Regions from separate parts of the Homo sapiens genome. Here region 2 is linked to region 1. Evidence: promoter capture Hi-C in 16 types of primary human blood cells and fetal thymus (Javierre and others, 2016). All regions are on one chromosome and are shown on one strand. The core of a region is centred on a gene start or on the middle of the fragment in contact, and the rest is flanking DNA. Distances in the headings are between cores, read along the strand shown. Region 1 holds the start of NUP85 (nucleoporin 85). Region 2 holds the start of OTOP3 (otopetrin 3).

What was found. Contacts are between HindIII fragments. The CHiCAGO score rates a contact against its expected background, and 5 or more counts as called.
Region 2: a contact is called between the fragment with the promoter of OTOP3 here and the fragment with the promoter of NUP85 in region 1, in 2 of 17 cell types (neutrophils and non-activated CD4 T cells). The highest score is 8.0, in neutrophils.

What each region holds. Positions count from the first base shown.
Region 1 is chr17:75,203,802-75,208,590 of GRCh38, forward strand. NUP85 (nucleoporin 85) reads left to right here and starts at 1,878. Exons shown (of 19, transcript NM_024844.5): 1 at 1,878-1,993; 2 at 4,726-4,789. The coding sequence starts at 1,961. RefSeq lists enhancers at 683-1,617, 1,618-2,551, 1,710-1,889, 3,977-4,544. The HindIII fragment of the contact is 9,089 bases long and covers 1-4,789 here.
Region 2 is chr17:74,933,481-74,938,269 of GRCh38, forward strand. OTOP3 (otopetrin 3) reads left to right here and starts at 2,418. Exons shown (of 7, transcript NM_001272005.2): 1 at 2,418-2,460. The coding sequence starts at 2,442. OTOP2 (otopetrin 2) reads left to right here. Exons shown (of 7, transcript NM_178160.3): 7 at 1-432. The coding sequence ends at 65. The HindIII fragment of the contact is 16,590 bases long and covers 1-4,789 here.

The DNA of each region.
Region 1 (4,789 bases), core at 628-3,127:
TAATACAAGGGCGAAAAAGGAAAACTACAGCTAATAGTGCTATCCTTGTTCTTTTTTTTTTTTGAGACGGAGTCTCGCTCTGTCGCCCAGGCTGGAGTGCAGCGGTGCAATCTCGGTTCACTGCAAGCTCCGCCTCCCCGGTTCACGCCATTCTCCTGTCTCAGCCTCCCGAGGAGCTGGGACTACAGGCACCCGCCACCACGCCCGGCTGATTTTTTTTTTTTTTTTTTTTTTTTTTTGTATTTTTAGTAGAGATGGGGTTTCACCGTGTTAGCCAGGATGGTCTCTCTCTCCTGACCTGGTGATCCACCCGCCTCGGCCTCCCAAAGCGCTGAGATTACAGGCGTGAGCCACCGCGCCCGGCCTATCCTTGTTCTATATACTGATTACGCATACTATATATGGACCTTTTCCTTCCTCAACCTTTCTATAGATTTCTAAGAATAAGGTTTTGATGAAGTAGTTTATGTATCCTTCTTTTTCAGTTAATCCTAATGGAAAACGGTTGGAAAAATGAAACAATTATCTTACAACTTATTTTTCTCTTTCCTCTCCTCCCCTCTCTCTAAAAGAGTGTGGCTCCTTCCCCTCTCTTTTCCCCTTCCTCTCTCTAGAGTGGTTAACTCTCAAACTGTATTTAACTCTGGAAAAGTTTTCAATTACACAGGCGATAACTCCAACTTGAGGTATAACGGAAACTTATTAAGAGAAAAAGAGCAAAATAATTTTTTTTTGAGACTCAGCAAAATAATTTTTTTTTTTTTGAGACGGAGTCTCCGTCTGTCGCCCAGGATGGAGTGCAGTGGCGCGATCTTGGCTCACTGCAACCTCCGCCTCCCGGGTTGGAACAATTCTCCTGCCTCAGCCTTACGAGTAGCTGGGATTACAGGTGTCCGCCACCACTCCCGGCTAATTTTTGTATTTTCAGTAGAGACGGGGTTTCGCCATGTTGTCCAGGCTGGTCTTGAACTCCTGACCTCAGGTGATCCAACCACCTCGGCGTCCCGGAGTGCTGGGATTACAGGCGCGCGCTACCAAGCACAGCTAATTTTTTTTTTTTTTTTTGAGACGGAGTCTCGCTCTGTCTCCCAGGCTGGAGTGCAGTGGTGCGATCTTGGCTCAATGCAACCTCCACCTCCCGGGTTGGAACAATTCTCTTGCCTCAGCCTTCCGAGTAGCTGGAATTACAGGTGTCCGCCACCACGCCCGTCTAATTTTTTATATTTTTAGTAGAGACGAGGTTTCATCATATTGGCCAGACTGGTCTTGAACTCCTGAACTCCAGTGATCCACCCACCTTGGGCTGCCAAAGTGTTGGGATTAGAGGCTTGAGCCACAGCGCCGGGCCTTCAGGGGTATCGATTTTGTTCCCGTGCCTCTTGTGTGTGTTCTAGTGTGGAAGTGGAGGCGATTGCTTTCCAGCACAAGCCCGTTTGACTGTCGGGGTTTGGACAAGTGGCTGCGACGACACTAAGGTGGAGACCGGGATGTAGCGAGGACTCCCAGAGTTGGGAGACGTTGTACGCTTACTGGGACCTAAATCCCGCACGAGTTCCCACCCAAGTGCCGCCGCCCCAGCCTACGCACGCGCATTCGCACCGTCTCCAGCCCCGGGGTCCTCCTGCCCCTCCCGCCGTCTCCGGGGGCCTTTTCTCCGCTCGGCACCAGGGTGTCCCCGGCGCCGCCTGATCCTGTTAGCGCGGTACTCTGAGTGCAGTCAGTCCTCGGCGCTGTTTTCCCTGATTTGCTGTCGACGCCAGGAAGGAAGGACGCGTGCAGAGGACCGCAGAGGGGTGGCCGTGGCTGAGAGGAGACAGCGCCGCAGCACTGAGGGTTTGGGCTTGCAGGCGCTGCAGGAGACGCCCAGGCGGAGTCTTGTCTCGCAGCCAGCTCTGAGCGGGAGGCCTGAGCGGGAAGCATTGGCGTCCGAGCGACTTCTAGGAGCCTGGGGTTCGGCGCTATGGAGGAGCTCGATGGCGAGCCAACAGTCACTGTAAGGGTACCCCGAACAGGCTTGCTCGTCCTTGCGGGTTGAGAACTGCGTCTGCTTAGTTACTTCAGGCTTGTCTGCTTCCCTAGTGGTCGCGAGGCGCTCGTCCCCTTCCCTCGACTCAGTTGCCACTTTTCCGGAGGTCGCAGTGTTAACGAGGTGCCCGCCCTAGGGTCGCAGTGGTCGCGGGGTTTCTGCCACCAGTCACAAACCCCGGCCTCGAAGGTCCCACTCCGTCCCTTTCCTTCCTTTGTGTTCCTGGCCTTTTTACTTCCCTTGCTTTTCCTCTTGGGCATTAGAGTGGGTTCAGCCCAAGCAGAGGAATTTATATTTTTATTCCAGCCGTATTAAGCTCTGCATCGCGGCACATTGAGCTTCTGCCTGTGTGGCCTAAGGTTTATTCAACGTATTATCTCAGGAGACTATTCCTGTTTTATCGCTGTGCATTCAATTCCATTTGAACTTTGAAGACAGTATGTCAACTGTGGATGATCTGTGATGTGTATAAAAAAAATTCACGCGCTTTATGTACGAGATACCTACCGTTTCTGCTAGTTGGATTGCTCTTGTTTTCCCTCTTGTTAACCAGAAGTGACTGAGGCAGGTCTCAACCGATAAAGGTTTAATTAGCTAAGGTTGAGGATCCAACCGGGAAAAAGCACAGGTCACAGGAGGATCTGAGACCTGTGCTTTTTCCAAAGATGGTTTTGGGAACATCACTAGTTAAAGAGGAAGGAGCTAGCAGGAGGGGCAAAAAAGGGAGGTTAGGCAGTGAGGAGGCAAATGATTACATTCTTGTGAGTCGGTGATTAGCCTCAGTAAATCTGCATTTTACCTGTGAAAAGAGGGAGCAGAGGAAAATTTTATGTATGCATTCATCTCAGGGTAGGTAGAGGGATTATGGTTATTATTACTGTTATTTTTTAGACGGAGTCTCGCTCTGTCTCCCAGGCTGGAGTGCAGTGGCGCGGTCTCGGCTCACTGTAACCTCCGCCTCCCGGGTTCACACCATTCTCCTGCCTCAGCCTCCTGAGTAGCTGGGACTACAGGTGCCCGCCACCACGCCCGGCTAATTTTTTGTACTTTTTTGTATTTTTAGTAGAGACGGGGTTTCACCGTGTTGGCCAGGATGGTCTCAATCTCCTGACCTCGTGATCCGCCCACCTCGGCCTCCCAAAGTGCTGGGATTACAGGCGTGAGCCACCGCACCCGGCCGATTTCTGGTCTTTTACTTGTGAAGATAAGCTGGTAGTTGACATTGTCAGAATCAACAGATCTTGATTTTAGGACTAGTTTATAGGGGCGATGTGTATCCTGAAAATTTTAGAGGCTCACAAGGAATTTCCTTGTGAGCAATTTGTGAGGGAAGCTCTCTGGGGAGATATGTGGCCTTCTTTTTTTTTTCTCTTGAGGCGGAGTTTCCCTCTTGTCGCCCAGGCTAGAGTGCAGTGGTGCGGTCTCGGCTCTCTGCAACCTCCGCCTCCCAGGTTCAAGCAATTCTCCTGCCTCAGCCTCCTGAGTAGCTGGGATTGCAGGCATGTGCCACCATGCCCGGCTAATTTTGTATTTTTTTAGTAGAGACGAGGTTTCTCCATGTTGGTCAGGCTGGTCTGGAACTCCTGACCTCAGGTGATCTGCCGGCCTCAGTCTCCCAAAGTGCTGGGATTACAAGTGTGAGCCACTGCGCCTGGCCTCATTCTTTTTTTGAGACGGATTCTCACTCTGTCACCCAGAGTGGAGTGCAGTGGCGTGATCTCAGCTCACTGCAACCTCTGGCTCCTGGGTTCAAGCGATTCTTCTGCCTCAGTCTCCTGAGTAGCTGAGATTACAGGTGCGTGCCACCACACCCAGCTAATTTTTGTATTTTTGGTAGAGATGGGGTTTCACCATCTTGGTCAGGCTGGTCTCCAAAGCCTGACCTCGTGATCAGCCTGCCTCGGCCTCCCAAAGTGCTGGGATTACAGGCATGAGCCACCGCGCTTGGCTAGGAGTTCGAGATCAACCTGGCCAACATGGTGAAACCCCATCTCTACTAAAAAAATACAAAAATTAGCCTGGTTTGGTGGCGCGTGCCTGTAATCCCACCTACTCAAGAAGCTGAGGCAGGAGAATCACTTGAACCCAGCAGGCAGAGGTTGCAGTGAGTCGAGATTGCGTCACTGCAGTCCAGCCTGGGCAACAAGAGTTCGAACTCCTGACCTCAGATGATCTGCCCGCCTTAGCCTCCCAAAGTGCTGGCAGGAGCCACCCCGCTGCCGGCCCAAAATGAATTTTTCTTACCAGTGTTATAAGGAAATGTTATTGAAGGATACAGTGTTATTAGAGGACCAGCTGTGCTCTTCACTTAAAGTGTTTTTCAGCAGGGCGGGCACGGTGGCTCGCGCCTGTAGTCCTAGCACTTTGGGAGGCTGAGGCGGACGGATCACCTGAACTCAGGAGTTTGTGACCAGCCTGGGCAATATGGTGAAACTCTATCTCTACTAAAAATGAAAAAAAAAAAAAAAATAGCCGGGTGTGGTTGCACACACCTGTAGTCCCAGCTACTCAGGAGGTTGAGGCAGGAGAAGCCTTTGAACCCAGGAGGCGGCGATTGGAGCAAGCTGAGATTACACCACTGTACACCAGCCTGTTAGAGTGAGTCTTTGTCTCAAAAAAAAAAAAAAAAAAAAAAGAATGGAACAACTTCAGTAAGAAGAACATTTTTCATTTTAGATTTCTATGCCTTATTTTACTAGTTGATTCCAGGCGTGAATTCCAAGAAGAACCAAATGTATTTTGACTGGGGTCCAGGGGAGATGC
Region 2 (4,789 bases), core at 1,168-3,667, 270 kb before region 1:
CTTTCGGCATCTTCTACCGCATGCACGCTGTGTCCAGCCTGCTGGAGGTCTACGTGCTGTCCTGAGGCCTCCAACAGAGGCATGGGGGGCAGGAAGAGGGGGCTCAGCTCATGTGCCCACTCAGACACCCTCTGGGAATGAATCCCAGCTGGTGCCATATGACAGCCCATTTCCTTCTGGTCCCAGAGTGGAATTTTCACAAAAGTTATTTTTCCAGGTTCAATTTTTAAATCACAGTCAGGACAGGCCCATCCACCCCAGTATGACCGTGGGGCATGAGGTGACTGGGGAAGGGAGACCTCTCCTGGCAGCATTTCTAGGACCCAACAAGATCTGGAGGTGCCGGCTCTGGTTCCATCTCTAATCCCCTGCTGTGGCCTGGCCAGTGTACTGCCCGGAGCTGGAAACCAATAAACCTGTGATTTGCCCCCATCCCCACTGTTTGTCTCTGTTGTCCCGTCTGAGGTGGTCACAGGAGAGGATCTTGGGAGTCAGAGCGGGAAGGGCCCCTGGAGATTTTCAGGTCTCAAGTTTTGCAGTGTGTGAGCAAAATCCAAATGACAGACTAGCTACAGGGTGGGTAACTGGAGTTCCCAAACTGCCATCTTCCTCTTCCCTTTATCTCCAGGTGGCATATACATATAATCTTTTTTTTTTTTTTTTTTTGAGAGAGTGTCTCACCTTTTTGCCCAGGCTGGAGTGCAGATAGATCACTGCAACCTTAACCTCCTGGACTCAAGAGACCCCCCCACTTCAGCCTCCTGAGTAGCTGGAACTACAGCTACTACTGCCACCACGCCTGGCTAAATTGTGTGTGTGTGTGTGTGTGTGTGTGTGTGTGTGGAGATGAGGGTCTCATTGTGTTGCCCAGTCTGGTCTTGAACTCCTGGGCTCAAGTGATCCTCCCCCCTCAGCCTCCCAAAGTGCTGGGATTACAGGCATGAGCCACAGCACTCAACCTAATCATTTTCTTTGTGTGTGTCCCATGACAGAAGAAAGTTTAGGAAGCAGTGACCTAGTCTAATGTCTGCATTTTACAAAGAAGGAAGCTGAGGCCCAGAGAGGTAAAGTGACTTGCCCAAGGTCACACACCTGCAAAAAATCCAGAGCCTTTCTGCTAAGAACAATAATTTTCAAACTTTGTTTTCAAGCAGAACATTTTTCCCTTCAAATAAAATATTACAGGAACACAAGTTTATAACATAGATATAGGCTGTGTGCAGTGCCTCACGCTTGTAATCCCAGCACTTTGGGAGGCCGAGGCAGGCAGATCACTTGAGGTCAGGAGTTCGAGACCAGCCTGGCCAACATGGCGAAACTCTGTTTCTACTAAAAAATACAAAAAGTAGCCGGGCATGGTGGCGTGCGCCTGTAATCCCAGCTACTCAGGAGGCTGAGGCAGGAGAATCACTTGAACCCAGGAGGCAAAGGTTGCAGTGAGCCGAGATCATGCCACTGCACTCCAGCCTGTCTAAAACAAAAACAAAAACAAACAAACAAAAAAGATATAAACAAGGCAGTTCTAATTTAAAAGGAGTTGGGAGTCTCAGATCCTCACCACTTGACTTCCCCCTGCCCCAGGAGGTCCCCGAGGAGTTTCCCCTAAGCCCTAGGGTTTCTACTCTACAAAGGGTATAGAGATGCTTAGGAGGGAAGACAGCAGAGAGATGGGAAGGAGGCTCCACAGTTAGAAGAGTGAAAGGTGGTGGTGAGCATGCAGAGGCAGAGGGAGGGGAAGGGCTGGGAGAGGGAGGGCTGGGCGGGACCCATGGAGCAGATGGCATTTGGGGGAGATCATGGGAACAGCAGCACTGGGAGCTCAGGGGACTTTGAGGAAAGTGTGCCTGGACCCTGTCAGCAGAAGGAGGTGAGTAGTTCTCAGAGGCCGCAGGTGGAGCTGAGGAGGCCTCCTCCCCTGTCAGAATGGGGCTGTGCTCCAACTCTCCCCACCAAGTTCAGGTTTGACTTAAGGGAAACACAGGGTCCTGCTAGGCGGCCTCCAGGCCTGGGGCTAGGTAGGGTACAGGAAAAAGCGACTCCAGGCCTGGAGGGAGGGCGTCCATTCCCAGCTTGATCACCAAAGGAAAACGAGGCCTGAATTCCGCAAGCTCTTTACTGCGGACCTAAGAACACTGCACCCCTCTCCACCCCATCCGAGGGCGGGCTGCGAGTTGGAGACCCTGCAGGCCCGCGCCTGCACAGCCCTCAGCCCCGCCCGCTTGTCCAGCTGCCTCGCAATTGGCTGCACCCTCTGGGTCCGAGCCCCCGGGAGGGTAATTAACGAGGGATTAATGAGATTTCCAAAGTCAACAGAAAAATCGATGGGCCGCGGAGCCCGAGCGGCGGCTGCGCAGTCCCGCTGGGGGAGGGCGTCGCGGGCATCGGTCTCACCTGGACGGACGATCCGCTCAGCGCCCGCAGTCGGTGGTTAGCCCACGGCGATGCCTCTCCCGGCCTCAGGTAAGCCCGGAGCGCCGGCGGAACTTTCCCAGCTTGCGCACCCCAGACACTGGCACATACTACCCACCCCCCCAAAAGGGGGGTTCACAAGTAGGGGCTGCAGGGATTGGAACGGGAAAGCGGGGTGACTGTGGAGAGGTGAACTCCCTTTAATCTGAGGCCGGCCCCTCCACCCGCCCCGCAACCCGCGCTCCGCGCCCCTACTCCTTTCCGTGGACCCGGGGAGCACAGAGGGCCTCAGGGCGCGACTCCTCCCGGCCGGGTCCACACAGCAGAAAGCGCGGAGGCCTGGGGTGTGAGGTTGGTTGGGGCTGTCTGGACGCCCGGTCTGGGGCACGCAGGAAGCGGCTGCCCCGGCCCCGCAGTCCCTAAAATGGCTCGGAAGGAAATCCCGAGGGCGCCCGCACTCAGCAGCCTCCTCGGAGCCGGCCCTGCGCTGCTGGGCCGGGCGCCGGGCCCGACGGCTCCGCGGCTTTCATCGCCAATCCAGCCGAGACCCACAAACCAGTCCAGTGTCCCGGCCCTCCCTTGGACTGGCGTCGCGCCCAGGGGCGTGCCAGGGGGCGGCAGAGTACTGCTTGTCAGTTCCAGGTGCCCTTGCCCCAGCCTTCTGCCCGAGACCCCTAAATGCCCACTCCTGCCCCCTGCCCAGCCCGGGACCAAATTCGCTCCTTTGAAGGCTCACGCCAGCGGCCTTTGGAGGGCTGGACTTCAGGGTGGGAGACGGGGGATACTGTCAGGGCAAAGACCCCAGAGGAAGGGAACCTGGAACCTTGTCCCCCAGTGTCCCCTCCAGGCCTCCAGTCTGAATAAAATTCACCCTTGAAATTTCACCAGTAATCCCGACCCTTCCCAGCTCTCCAGGACCTCAAAAGAACTGGAAGGAAATGCAGAGATAGCCAACACTGAGTTTTCCAGGTGCCAGGCATTGCCGGCATTACTCTCTGCCCGTGCTTCGTGCATGTATTAAATCATGTCATTCTGACAAAGCCCCTATTCGGCATTCATCACCCCCCCACCCTTTTTTTTTTTTTTTTTTTGAGACAGGGTCTAACTCTGTCCCTCAGGCTGGAGTTCACTGTGGCGATCACAGCTCACTGCAGCCTCAGCCTCCCAGGCTGAAGCAATCCTCCCACATCAGCCTCCCGAGTAGCTGGGACTACAGGTGCATGCCACTACACCTGGCTAATTGTTTGGTATTTTTTGTAGAGACAGGGTTTTGCCATGTTCCCCAGGCTGGTCTCCAACTCCTGGGCTCAAGGGATCCGCTCACCTCAGCCTCCCAAAGTGCTGGAATTACAGGCGTGAGCCACTGCAGCCAGCCTCGTTCCGGAAGTCTTTATTGAGCATCTACTATGCACCAGCTACTATTCCATAGTTGTATATCAGTTTTGCAGATGACAACACTCAGGCACAGAGTCTAAGTAGCTCTCTGTAGTAGTCTCAGTAGTCTAAGATGACAGAGGTAATAAGTGCTGGAATCTGAGCACTTGATCATTAATCTACCCTGCTTGGGGGCTGGAGGAGAGGGTGCAGGTTTTGGGGAAGGTGAAGTAGAGCAGTTACAGTTGGGATATATGGAGCAGGGAGACATCCCGGTGAGCCCCAGCCTTGCTCAATTTGGGTGGGGGAGCTTAGGAGGGAAAGATAAAGATCATCGGGAGTCTCCTCCCCAGCCAGCCCGGAAAGAGTTTAATGGGAAGGGTCTCTGTCCACAGCTCTGGTGCTGAAAATTTCCCAAAAGATGCCAGAGTCAGTGGGCAATCACTGGGTGAATGTCACATCTGCACTAGGTTTGGGGGGTCCAAGTTAAGCAGGACCCGGTCTCTGTCCTGGAGGAGTTTCAGGACTTAATGGGAGCCAGCCACACCCACAGCACACCAAACAGGGCACACCTCTCAATAGAGGGGAGTGGCCCCAGCAAAGTAGCACCAGAAGGCTTAGGCAGAGAGGAAGGCTTTCCAGGTGGGTGGGGAGGATGGGCGAGTGGTGGGGGAGGCAGAAAGAAGAGCAGTGTCCAGGAGGGATGGCAGGAGGCAGGAGACCATGGGAGAAACGCAGAACTTTCTACCTGGGCCTGGGTTGGTGTGGGAGGCAGGTGCCTTGAGTACGGCAGGGGTGGTGGGACAGGGAGGAGACAGAACTTAGGCAAGGATGACAGAGTGGAGTGGGAAAGGGGAGAAAATCATTTATAGAATCTTGAAAAGAGGCTTAAGTTTTAGTGCTCCATCTGCCCCAGAAGAGAACAGCAGAAGGTATAAATATGGAGCAGGTGGAGAATGGGAGAATATGACAAGGGGAGAATGGGAGCCCGGAGAGGTTGCATTTT